3 separate regions of the Homo sapiens genome follow, and all the other regions are linked to region 3. Evidence: promoter capture Hi-C in 16 types of primary human blood cells and fetal thymus (Javierre and others, 2016). All regions are on one chromosome and are shown on one strand. Each heading gives the region's core, a stretch centred on a gene start or on the middle of the fragment in contact. The rest is flanking DNA. Distances are from core to core; before and after follow the strand shown. Region 1 overlaps PDCD6IP (programmed cell death 6 interacting protein). Region 2 has its middle 78 kb from the start of PDCD6IP. Region 3 holds the start of TRANK1 (tetratricopeptide repeat and ankyrin repeat containing 1).

The links. Contacts are between HindIII fragments. The CHiCAGO score rates a contact against its expected background, and 5 or more counts as called.
Region 1: a contact is called between a fragment that was not itself captured here and the fragment with the promoter of TRANK1 in region 3, in 1 of 17 cell types (M0 macrophages). The highest score is 6.9, in M0 macrophages.
Region 2: a fragment that was not itself captured here is called in contact with the fragment with the promoter of TRANK1 in region 3 in 1 of 17 cell types (M2 macrophages); the score reaches 6.0 in M2 macrophages.

The regions. Positions count from the first base shown.
Region 1 is chr3:33,820,997-33,825,368 of GRCh38, reverse strand. It overlaps PDCD6IP (programmed cell death 6 interacting protein), which reads right to left. Exons shown (of 18, transcript NM_013374.6): 4 at 3,287-3,414; 5 at 29-182. Among named protein-coding and RNA genes, the nearest start is that of PDCD6IP, 25 kb to the right of the region's middle. The HindIII fragment of the contact is 2,045 bases long and covers 1,362-3,406 here.
Region 2 is chr3:33,874,058-33,878,259 of GRCh38, reverse strand. No RefSeq gene overlaps it. Among named protein-coding and RNA genes, the nearest start is that of PDCD6IP, 78 kb to the right of the region's middle. The HindIII fragment of the contact is 1,820 bases long and covers 1,462-3,281 here.
Region 3 is chr3:36,942,254-36,946,533 of GRCh38, reverse strand. TRANK1 (tetratricopeptide repeat and ankyrin repeat containing 1) reads left to right here and starts at 1,480. Exons shown (of 24, transcript NM_001329998.2): 1 at 1,480-1,747. The coding sequence starts at 1,725. RefSeq lists an enhancer at 1,313-1,382 and a silencer at 1,613-1,832. The HindIII fragment of the contact is 7,723 bases long and covers 1-2,590 here.

The DNA of each region.
Region 1 (4,372 bases), core at 1,135-3,634, 3.1 Mb after region 3:
ATGCAACAAAAAGATAAATTGGAGTTACCTCTTGTGGCTTTTAAAAAAAATACTTCTTGAGCCTGTGCCAGCATAATAAGACTGAGGGTCCCAACAGTATCTGGAGATATGTCCACGGTCGGCTCTCGACTTAAGGCAGATAAAACCGTCTCTTTAATATGTAAAAAGGCACCACTAGCAAACTAAAGGGGGGAAAAAGAATTTCTTTATAGGAACTCAGCAAGACTTAATTTCCTACTGTTACATATAAAAGTCATTTCAAATGTTAACTCAGTGAACAGTTAATATATTTAAATTTTTATATTATGCAAAACCAATCTAAAACATCTGACCTACAGACAATAAGGTTATCTTTCTAAAACTCTATAGCGTAACAAGAGATTTAACAAAGATTAAAAGTAAATTACAAGGAAAAACAAAGTAAACTAATGGAACAATCTGATTAAACTATTTTTAGATATACTTCCTCAAAATTAACATGAGAATAGAGGCGGGGATAAACATTAAAATATTTTTAGTACTGCAATGCTCTTGCTTTGGTCCCAAACAAATTCATCTTTCAAATAATTAAACATGCCGTAGTTAGGGGACACCCCAGGTAGTACATACACCTAGTCCTCTGAGGAACAGCATTACTACCCATTGCCAGTGATTTCTGTCTGGCCTTCAGAGCTCACTAGTGAAATGTTCCCCATCAGATTTTTCATCTCAATTATATTTTGTTAATACTAAAATAACTTTGCTTTCATGAAACAAATTATACTAAGAAAAAGAAATAAATCAGTCTGGGATTAAAAGGTGTCATGAGTTGGCCGGGTGCGGTGGCTCACGCCTGTTAATCCCGGCACTTTGGGAGGCTGAGGTGGGCAGATTACCTGAGGTCAGGAGTTCAAGACCAGCCTGGCCAACATGATGAAACCCCGTCTCTACTAAAAATACAAAAATTAGCTGGGCATGATGGCACACACTTGTAATCCCAGCTGCTCGGGAGGCTGAGGCAGGAGAATCACTTGAACCCAGGAGGCGGAGGTTGCAGTGAGCCAAGATCACGCCATTGTACTCCTGCCTGGGCAACAGAGCGAGACTCCATCTCAAAAAAGAAAAAAAAAAAAAGGTGTCATGAGTTAGATAAATAGACAACACAGAGAAAACTCAAAGTCAAATGTATTAAAATGAACAGCATGTTTCTGCAGTCAGTAAGTATTATAACACTAGAGTATCTGCTAGGAATGAACAACTGAACTTGTTCAGTAAACTAGTGAATCAAAGTCTACAACAGCAAAGTGTCTGAGTCTCTCATTTACAGATAAGGAACTGGAGGTACTAGAGAGGTTAAAGAACTTGCCCAACGGCACAAAGCTTCTGGGTGGCAAGCAGCCTAGACAAGGACCTAGGTCTAATACCACCAGTTATCTTTCCATGATACCAGGTGCCCTGCTGTGAACCCTCACAGAATGGAATGTTTCTTTCATAATTCAGAATGACCTTTCTAAAATCTCATATACTAACTAACTGAGTTACAGTTAACCAAAAGCTAAATAAAATTTTACTTCGTTTTCACTACTGTATTTTATTTTATTTATTTTGAGACAGAGTCTTGCTCTTGTCGCCCAGACTAGAGTGCAATGGCACAACCTCAGCTCTCTGCAACCTCCGCCTCCTCGGTTCAAGAGATTCTCCTGCCTCAGCCTCCCGAGTAGCTCAGACTACAGGCGCCCACCATCACACCCAGCTAATTTTTCTATTTTTAGTACAGACAGGGTTTCACCATGTTGGCCAGGCTGGTCTGGAACTCCTGACCTCGTGATCCGCACACCACAGCCTCCCACAGTGCTGGGATTACAGGCGTGAGCCACCACGCCCAGCTCGTTTTCACATTTTAAAATATTTGCCATGTATAGCCTCAAAAAGAAATAGCGTATGCATTATGTTTGTCATCTATGCCCATTCAAAACTGTAAGGCAAGCCACAATTTGGAGCGTGTTGTTTGCTTACGGTATATTTTCCTTTTACTTTCTCAGAACAGCATCACTCACCTCTTCCCTAAACATAAACAACGGGAAAAAGCAGACTACCTCTGAGACAAGCAAATTTCATGGGAGGTTTGGGAGTGAAACAGTGGAAGGACATTTGGAATTACATGAAATTTGGAATCAGAACTATTGAAACCCAAATAGACTGCTTTATTAAGACTTCGGACCTTTAGCCTCCTCGTATGTAAAATCGGAATGACATTATATGACATACATCACAAGGTTTATCTGAGAGTCAAATAATGTACATGAAAACACTTTGTAAATTAGAAAGTAATATAAAATGACAACATGATTATATATATATTATTTAACAGTAATCATTTACTGTTCTTTTAACCAAAACAAAAAAAAGCTGAATAAATAATAAACAACTGCTGGCCGGGCATGGTGGCTCACATCTGTAATCCCAGCACTTTGGGAGGCCGAGGTGGGTGGATCATGATGTCAGGAGATCAAGACCATCCTGGCTAACACAGTGAAACCCCATCTCTACTAAAAATACAAAAAAAATTAGCCAGGCGAGGTGGCGGATGCCTATAGTCCTAGCTATTCAGGAGGCTGAGACAGGAGAATGGCGTGAACCCAGGAGGCGGAGCTTGCAGTGAGCCGAGATTGTGCCACTGCACTCCAGCCTGGGCAACAGAACAAGACTCCGTCTCAAAATAAATAAATAAATAAAATAAAATAAACTGCCACAAAATAACATGCCATATTAGTAAATGATCAGTACGTAAAACAGATTAGGCAACTTATGAACATTATGTGTCTGACCATATTTAAATATGACCTCTCCACAAGTCTCAAAGTTAAAATTTTATTTTCTTGCCAATTTCTTGTCTTTATTTTTGTAACAACAGTGAAATTTCAAGTGTGTCTCACTCTAAGAAAACATATGAAAATAATGTACAAATTTTTTTTAATTAGGTAATTTATTTAAAATGGATTTACCCTAAATGCCTGAGATGAAATCTCAGACATTTCATAATTTCTTCAACCAACAATTATTGAGCCTCTATTATGTGCCAGGCACTGTGCTAGGTGCTCGGTATAAAACAATGAGGAATAACAGACCTGGTCTATAGACAGTTTATCTAAGGGCTTTAACAGTAAGAATAAATTCATTTTAAAAGTGCATTCGTTTTAGAAAACATCTGTTGCGTAAGAAGTATCTATAAACCTAAATGCAAATTATTTTCCACTTAATCCAATTTAGTGTTGACCATTATTGTAGTAACTACTTTTCAGCATACCTGGTAATGTTTAGCAGCGATTTTCAATCCTTCATCATTATCCAGGTTCTGTTCTGCTGCAATTTGGCTAGCTAAGGCTGCACAATTGAACAACACACAGCTCTTTTCATATCCTAAGCTTGCAAGAGCTGTAAAAAATTGAGAAGGAAAAATTCATCAGATTATTTTTTCTAAAGAAAACAAATGTTTCAAAGAGAAATACTATGACCTCTCTCATCCCGCTGACTCTCACAAAAACAAGTTTCCAGACCTGTTTTCTTGCTGTCATATGCTCCCATATTTCAAGCTGCCCTTACAGGCATTTATTTCCACAACAATATTCCCATCACCCAAAACGCTGAAGAACAGTAAGTTATTCTTTCTCTCCTTCCCTTTACTTCCACATTTCTATTACAATCAAATTCAAATGTAAAAGTCATTTTCATGTCATTTCTCTCAGTTTCTTAAATTTGAATAAATTATTTCCATTTTTCTGTCACCTCTCAAAATCACATTGTCCCACCACAATCAAACCAATTCCTCATTACCACAAATCTAAGTCAATGCAATTACCTCCTAGCTGGCCTTATGCTTTACTCCCTCATGCAAATACATTTCTCAAAGGGCTAGCAGGTTAGCTGGGCTAAAACCCAACTCTGATTAAAAAAAAAAAATCTACACACCTCACATCCACTTAGGATAGCTCCTATTAAAAAACAAACAGAAAATAAGCATTGATGAAGATATAGACAAACTGGAACTTTCCTGTACTGTTGGCAGGAACGCAAACTCGTGGTTGGGCATGGTGGCTCACTCCTGTAATCTCAGCACTTTAGTAGGCTGAGGCAGGAGGATCTCTTGAAGCCAAGAGTTTGAGGTCAGCCTGAGCAACACAGCAAGACCCCATCTCAACAAAAAAAAAAAAAATTGTTTTTAAACAGCCAGGTATGGTGGTGCATGTCTATAGTCCTAGCTACTCGGAGGCGGGAGGACCACTAGGGCCCAGGAGTTCAAGGCTGCAGTGAGCTATGATCATGCCACTACACTTCACCCTGAGCGTCAGAGCAAGACCCTGTCTCAAAATAAAAAATAAAAATTAGAAAAAGT
Region 2 (4,202 bases), core at 1,122-3,621, 3.1 Mb after region 3:
AAATGTTTTGGAATGCTCAACATCACTAATCATCAGAGAAATACAAATCACAACCACAATGAGATGTCATCTTACCCAGTCAGAATGCTACTATTAAAAAGACAAAAATAACAGGTGTTGGTGAGGATCCGAAGAAAAGGGAACTCTTATACAGTGTTGCTGGGAATGTAGACTAGTACAGCCACTATGGAAAACTGCACAGAGATTTATCAAAAAGCCTAAAATAGGAGAGATGGAGCAAGGTGGCCAAATAGAAGCCTCCAGCCATCATCCCCTCTGCAGGAACACCAAATTGAACAACTATCCACAAAAGAAAGCACTTCACAAGAACCAAAAATCAGTGGTTGGACATATAACAACATTCTCTATAAAAAAAGAGTATATTGAGAAGTAAAACTTAGTGATGATTTTATTAAAAATGTCAGTCCCTAATCATTCTTACAGTATTTTGCTATGTTGAGAATGTAAAAGAAAAAAAGTAAATTGCAAAAAAATTATATCTATAAGCAATTTAAAAATCTTTAGTATTAAAGAGTTAATTCAAAAAAATGGTTTTTAGTTTTTTTTTTTAAACTAAAACTAGAATTGCCACTTGATCCAGTAATTCCTCTATTGAGTATCTACTCAAAGGAAAAAATATCAAAATACCAAAGGGGCACCTGCACCCACAGGTTTATGCAGCACTATCCACAATAGCTAAGGTATGGAATCAACCTAAGCACCTATCAATAGATGAATGGATAAAGTAAAGAAACTGTAGTATATATATACACAGTAGAATGTCATTCAGCCATAAAAAGCAAATACAATTATGTCATTGGTAGCAACACGGATGGAACTGGAGGTCATTATCTTAAGTGAAATAAGCCAGGCACAGAAAGACAGATACCACATGTTCTCACTCAAATGTGGGAACTAAAACATTTGATCACTTGGAGGTAAAGAGTGAAAAACTAGACAACAGAGACTGGGAAGGGTGAGTGGGGGCAAGAAGAAGAAGGGAAGTGGGGTAAAGGGCACAAACGTAGAATAAGATGGAATAAATTCAGTGTTTGATCGCAGAGTAAGGTGGTTATGCTTAACAGAAATGTATTGTTCTTGGGTGATGGGCACCCTGAATATCCTGGCTTGATCACAATGCATTATATACATGTATCAAAATGTCACATGTACCCCATAAGCTTGGACTAACTTTTTAAAATGCATTGGTGACAGTGTGTGGCAGACCAAGTGCTGCAGAAAAAGGAATTGTGAATTAGATTATTTCAAGAAACTTCTCCAATCAAGAAAAAGGTGGAAGATTAAAATAATGGGTAAAAAATAATAGTAGCTAACATTACTAAACATTTATTATGTGCTACACAGATAGAAAACATGTGGAGAGATCTAGTATCTGTAACAATAGAGATTCCAGAAGGCAGTCGAGAGCACATGGAAGAGAAGTGAAAAATCCTCCAAGCTTACTAAAGGCTTGAGTATTTGTATCCAAAGCTCATCTGGACTTCTGGGGTTCTGCTCTGACATGTGAAGAGCTCAGCAACCACCCCTTCATCCTCACAACAAAAAAGAGCTGAACAAACTGAAAATCAACAATTCTTTTTTTAATCCACCAGAGAATTGAGATCACAGGGCAAACAAATAGCCCCAAGACTGGAGAAACAGACAAATACAGAAGCAGGAGCCGAAGCCACTGGAGCCAGGATCTAGGAGGAAAAAAACTGTAATGGACAAACTGCTGGAAGCTGAGTGGGGCCTAGACTGTGTGTTAAAAACTCCTGGGGCCCAGGCCCAGAGGGGCCCCCATGTTTTCATGAGTTTCACCTGCAAAAGCCCTACCAGGGTCTCGTGGTGAAAATTTGGGGGAAATCCCCTGATGCTTCCAGCAGAAGGGGAAAGTAACCATCTGAGCATTCTGTTCTCCACTTGCCCTCAAGGGAAACTATACTGGTTACAATGTAGGGGAAAGGAAATACAGTCCCCACTCTGTGTCCATAGGTTTTGCATCCCTAAATTCAACTAACGTTAGACCAAAAAAAAATTTTTTTAATTGTATCACTACTGAACACGTACAGACTTTCTTTACTTGTCATTATTCCCTAAACAATATAGTAAAACAACTACATAGCATTTACATTGTATTTGGTATTATAAGTAATCTAGAGATAATTTAAAGTATATGGGAAGATGTGCATAGGTTATATGCAAATACTATGCCATTTTATATCAAGGACTTGAGTATCCATGCACTTTGGTATTTGTGAGAAGTCCTGGAATCAAGCACCTACTGATACTGACAGAGACAACTGTACCCAACTCCAGCCCCCTTTAACTAACTTCCTGTCTCACCTAAGGAGTAAAACAAAAGCTGGGAAGCACTTGTGAGGGTCACAGGCCATGGCCACAGGCTCCTTGAAAGATTGAGACCAAATCACAGGATTATAGAACACTTCTACCCTCACACCTCAACACCACATCAATAAGGCTCCTGTGTGACAACAGAGATTACAGCTGAAACAACTGCAAGCCTGAGGCTCTGTTTAAGAAAGAATGTCTAGGGAAAACCAAAAACAACAGGGAAAACAAAAATGAGGACACTGAAGAAAACTGAAATCTCAGACATCTACAGCTATGGTAAGTGATAAACACAGCCAAGTTCTTAGCCAGATAAACATAAACCCTTATCCTAAAGATCTGTTTACCTCAGGTCCTTTTAGCCAATATATCAAATCTGCCTTTCAACAGTAAATTACAAGGCACATTAAAAGGCAAGAAAAACACTCTGAAAAGATAAGCAAACAACAGAACAAGACTTACATATGGAAAAGATTTTGATACTATTTGACTGGGAATTTTAAATAACTATACTTAATATGCTAAGGGTTCCAATGTAAAAGTGGACAGCATGCAAGAACAGATGAGTAATGAAAGCAGACAGCTCGAAACTCTAAGAAAGAAATGAAAGAAAATACTAGAAATCAAAAGCCCTATAATATAAATGAAGAATGCCTTTGATGGGCTCACTGGTAAACTAGATACAGATGAGAAAATATTCAGTGAGCTTGAAGATATGTCAAGAGAAACTTCCCAAACTGAAATGCTAAGAATGAAAAATTGGAACAGAATAGCCAACAACTGTGGGACAATAACATAACATGTAATATATTCACAAAGAGAACACCAGAAGCTGAAGAAAGAAAGGAGAAGAATAAATATTTGAAGTAATAATGGATTAGAATTTTCCAGGATTAATGACAGATACAAAACCACAGATCCAGGAAGCTTGGAGAACACGAATCAGGACAAATACAGAAAAGTCTACACTTTAACAAATCATATTCAAACTTGCAGAAAACCAAAGACAGAGAAAATCTTGAAAGAAAGCAGAGAAAAACCTGCCTTACCTATAGAAAAATAAGGATAAGAATTCCATTAGACTTCACAAACAATGCAAGTAAGAAGAGAAGGGAAATATTTACGGTGTTGAAAGAAAATAATCACCAACCTAGAATTCTGTATTTGGCAAAATTATCCTTCAAAAGTAAAGGAGATGATCATAGACATAAATATAAAACACAAAACTACAAAATTTCCAGAATATAACATAGGATAAAAGCTAGGTAATCTAGGGTTTGACATAGATTTGATATAACACCACAAGCACGAGCCATGAAAGAACTGGTAAGTTTGACTTCATTAAATTAAAAACTTTTGCTCTGTGAAAAAGCTTTTGCTCTACAAACTGGAAGAAAATATTTGCAAAACACATCTGATAAAGGAACTACATTAAAATATACCCCAAAAAAGCATTAAAATTCAATGAGAAAATCCAATTCAAAAATGGATAGAGGTCCTGAACAGATGTCTCACCAAAGATACAAGATGGCATATAAGCATGTGAAAAGATGCTCAACGTCATAAATCATTAAGAAATTGCACATTAAAAATAGTAATATACCACTACACACCTATTAGAATGGCTAAAATCCAAAAATCTGACAATACCAAATGCTAGCGAGGATGTGGAGAAACAGGAACTCTCATTCAGTGCTGGTGGGAATGCAAAATGGTACAGCAACCTTAGAAGACAGTTTGGCAGCTTCTTACAAAGCAAAACATAGTCTTTTATGATCCATGAATTGTGCTTCTAGGTTCTCACCCAAATAAGTTGAAATTTTATGTCCATACAAACCTGCACATTAATG
Region 3 (4,280 bases), core at 231-2,730:
CTGTCTCAAAACAAAAACAAAAACAAAAATTCCTGACGCCCATGTCAATTAGACAATTTGGGAGTAAAAGCCAAACATACGCATATTTTTGGGTTTTTTTTTTTTTTTTTGTATTTTTAGTAGAGATGGGGTTTCTCCATGTTGGTCTGGCTGGTCTCAAACTCCCGACCTCAGGTGATCCGCCTGCCTCAGGCTTCCAAAGTGCTGGGATTACGGGTGTGAGCCACCCGCCCGGCCTTGTTTTTGTTTTTAAGCTCCCCAGGTGATTCTATTGTGTAACTAAGGTTGGGAAGCACTGCAGTATAGAGTTTGCATGAGGAAGCTAAGATTGGAAATGTGGGGCAAGATTGTGAAGAAGAATCTCAAATGCCCGGGTACCTAACCTGATCTCTAGGAGACAATGGAGTGCCACTGATGGCTTTTGAACTGTACGTGATTCATCCTGATGTTTGGGGAAGATCAATGCACAGAAATCTCTGTGAGATTCTAGAAGCAAGGAGACCACTAGCTAGACTGAGACTAGTTCACAACGCAGAATGACCAGTGGAGAGAAGTATACTGTGTGCCTTAGGTGTGTCCACGTGTTACCAAAGCCTCTCTGTTTCGCTGAAATGTGTGGTCCCCCTCACTAAAGCTCTGGTGGTGTCCTCCCTGCCACCAGGCAGCCTGGTGTGGTGGTCCCCCAGAAGGATGGGCGAACCACCGGGATGCAGTGTAGGCCGAACCTTGCCCCAGGGGAGGGCGGCGGGCTTAGCTCTCTGATTGGGTGGATTCTCTGGTGTGTAGGAAAGTACTCCCAGGCCCAGAGAAGCTGTGAAGACCAAACCGGCTCCCTAGGCCGAGAACCGCTGGGGAGGTAGCAGCCAGAGGTGGTCCTCTCCGACCCACTACTCTGTCGATCATCACTGGGGAGGTGGAAAGACAAGGCAAGATCCTCATTTTGTTGCCTGCTCAGGCCTGTGCGCACTTACTCTCCATGGACACGACGGTGAGCGTGGAGCAGCCCGCGGTCTCGCTGCCCCCTTCACTCCCGGACCCCCAGCCTCCCCAGAGTGGAGGGGCAAGCACACAGTAAGTACTTGATATTCGCCCGACTCCTGAGCTCCTCATCTGTAGGAGCTAGGGGGCTTGTTCTCCGTACGTCCTTTGTTGGAGGGAGGAACGAGGGAAGGAGAAAACCCACGCTGAGGCCGTTGGCCGATCACTTTCTTTACCTCCCGGACAACATTGATGGGCCCCACTAAGGAAAGCCGAATTCTCGCATGCCCGAGGAGTGTCGGAGGTGGTTGTGCGCCTAGTCCCTCCTGGTAAAGGGTTCGAAGCACTCGTTTATTCAAAGGCGGCCGAGAGCCATACCATTTGCTTGCATGACGGGAGACACCGAAACGCCCCTTTTGAACGCGATGACAAACACCTCCTCCCACTCAGCAGCGACGTGCACGTGACAGTTTTTGGGCTCTCGCAACTACGTGGAAACTTGGAATAGGTCTGCGGCTGCACACCGCCCGGACGCCGGGGTTCCTGCGTCCCCCGCCCCCTCTGATCGCGGCTGGGTAGCCGAGCCGCAGGCAGCTGGGGGCCCCCGAACGCCGCCTCTGCATCGCGCCGCCCCTGCCCCGGGCTCCGGTAGCTTTCGGGCTTCCGCACTGCCCGCCGCGCCCTGCCCACAGGGAAGCGCTTCCCCAGGCGGCGGCGGTCCTGGTGCGGACCCTCCGGCCGCAGCCATGTGGGACCCGCGGGCAGCTAGGTGCGTAGCGGCGCGGGAAGCACTGGGGCATCTCTGGCCTTCCGGGCCCGCCACCCTTCCTGGCGGGAGGCGGCCGCGCGCGGGGACTGGCGACCCTGAGGTAGCGGCCGAACGGGCCCGCCCGGCCATCCCTGTGGGGCCCACAGCCATCTAGGTGCAGACCCGAGCCAGTTGCGCGGGGTCGGTCGCGGGGGACGGCTTCGGCCTTTTCGGTCCGGAGGGACCAGGGCACGCGCTGCGACAGGACTGCGGCGGCGCGCGGCCTGCCTAGCTCCCACCCCGGCATCGAAGCCGCAGCTCTCGGGCCCACCTCCGCATCCTCAGGGGTTCCCGGGGGCTGCCGACAGGTTCCTGACCAGCGAGCGCGCCCCCGGGGCAAGCATTCTTGGCGGGCAGAAACCTGGGAGCGGAGCACAGCGGTGCAAGGGAACCGTGCCAGGCGGGAAGGGCGGAATTTGCGGGGAACTTGGAGCGCGCTGGCCTCTTCCCGGCAGTAGGAGGCCTTCTTCCCTGCCCGCCCGATTGAGGGCTGCTGGGCTGGCTCAAACTGGACTGCACGGTCCATCAGCCTGGGCTCACCGAGTCTAGGGGGAAGGTAGTAGTAGGGACCCAAGGCTGGGAAGCGGAGCCCTTAGAAGCCCTTGCTTCTGCCTCGGAGCGTTTCCGAACCGGAGCTCGGAGTCTGTTGCCTGGGAGGCGCGTTGCGTTTCCTCCCAACTCCCTGTCTCCGTCCCGCGGGGAGCCCTGTGCACTTGCAACCCGGCTGAGATAGAGCCCATCTTTGAGGTGCAGCTCAAGCCACCTTTTCTCCCAGATCGGGGTGTTTCTGGGCAGTTGAAAGCTTTGGTGCTTCCTAGGAAAATTTTTATGGAAGTGTGCAATTTGGAAAATAAAAGAAAAAAAAATTTAAGAAGCAGAAAGAGAATGGGGCTCTGAGGTCTCTAGTTCCCCTATCTGCTCCAACCCAGTTGCTGCTGGCTCAGTTAGTCCTTATGCGGGAAGGAATAGCTGGGATTAAAGCCTTGTGTTCCCAGCGTAGGTATGCGCTCCTGCTCCCTCGTGCTGAGCGTTTTGGGTTCCAGGATCCTTTTTGATATAAGGCTGTTATCCGGATGGCATCCTGTTTGGTCCTTTATAGAAAAAAAAAAAAAGTACTACGGTGTGTGTGTGTTGGAGGGCGGGGACGGTGGTCAGGAGTTTGTTTCAACTGTTTTCCAGGCAGGTCTGTTTTGTAGGATTGCAGGATAGGTGCTTGAGTTCATATGCTCTTTGTTGGCTTTTGCATCCTCTGCGGGGGGTGGGGGGGTGGGTAGAGGTGGGATAGGTGTGTGTGGCATTCACTCCCAGAGTCGCATCCCACTGCCACTGGCCTATGTATGGGTTTCTAGGTCTTTTTTCGATCAAGACCCACACCCACCCACCTATATGTATATAATGTATATATGCATAATATGTGTGTAATATTATATATACATATATACGCACACACACATACACATGTAAAATTGCAGCAAGAGCTTCATGGTATAGTTATTCTTTCTACAGGGTGAGGCACAATGATATTTTCCATTCTATTCCCTCCCCCCACCCCCCACCAGAGGGATTCTCGCTCTGTCACCCAGGCTGGAGTGCAATGAGGCGATCTCGGCTCACTGCAGCCTCCGCCTCCTGGGTTCAAGCGATTCTCCTGCCGCAGCCTCCGAAATAGCTGGGATTACGGGGGGCCGGGGGTGGGGCGCCACCAAGCCTGACTAATTTTTGTATTTTTAGTGGAGACGGTGTTTCGCCATGTTGGCCATGCTGGTCTCAAACTCCTGATCTCAAGTGATCCACCCGCTTCTGCCTGCCAGAGTGCTGGGATTACACGCCAGAGCCACCACGCCGGCCCATTCTATGTTTTTTTTTTTTTTTTAAAGCGGGTCATAAATTGTTAACTTCACTTTATGACCGACTGACCAGCTTTATGGGGCAACTGCAGGTTCTGTTTCCGCCGCTCTCCCAGAGTATGAGGAGACCGTCAGCATTTCACAGGGGAGTTGACTTTGGAAGTGAGGACTTGGTGTAGGAGTGATGAAGTAGACTGAAATTCATACTTGAGTGATAGAATACTGTAGGACATGGCTGTGTGGTTCAAGCCAGTACCATCTACAAAGACAGACCGCAGATGCTTCTGGTTACTTTGGTTCTGGCTATGTGTCCACAGAGAGCTGGCCTCCTGCATGGATCCCAGTGGGGCCTGGTGTAAATGCTAGGGAGGTAGGGGCATAATAGCTCCTGTTCTTTTTTTTTTTTTTTTTTTTTTTTGAGGAAGAAGAAGGGAAGATGCTGCAACCCTACTGCAGCCTTGGATTCATAGTTTTCTAAAAGGATTCTTTGGGTCTTGTCTCAGAATTTCACAGCTGCAATCAAGAGCTGGACCACGATCATTTTATAGATGAAGAAATTAAGGCCCAGAAAGGCCATCACTTGTTAGTCATTACCAACGAGTTAGTGTTAGATCTGGGATTAGACAACTTATCTCTTGACTTCCCAG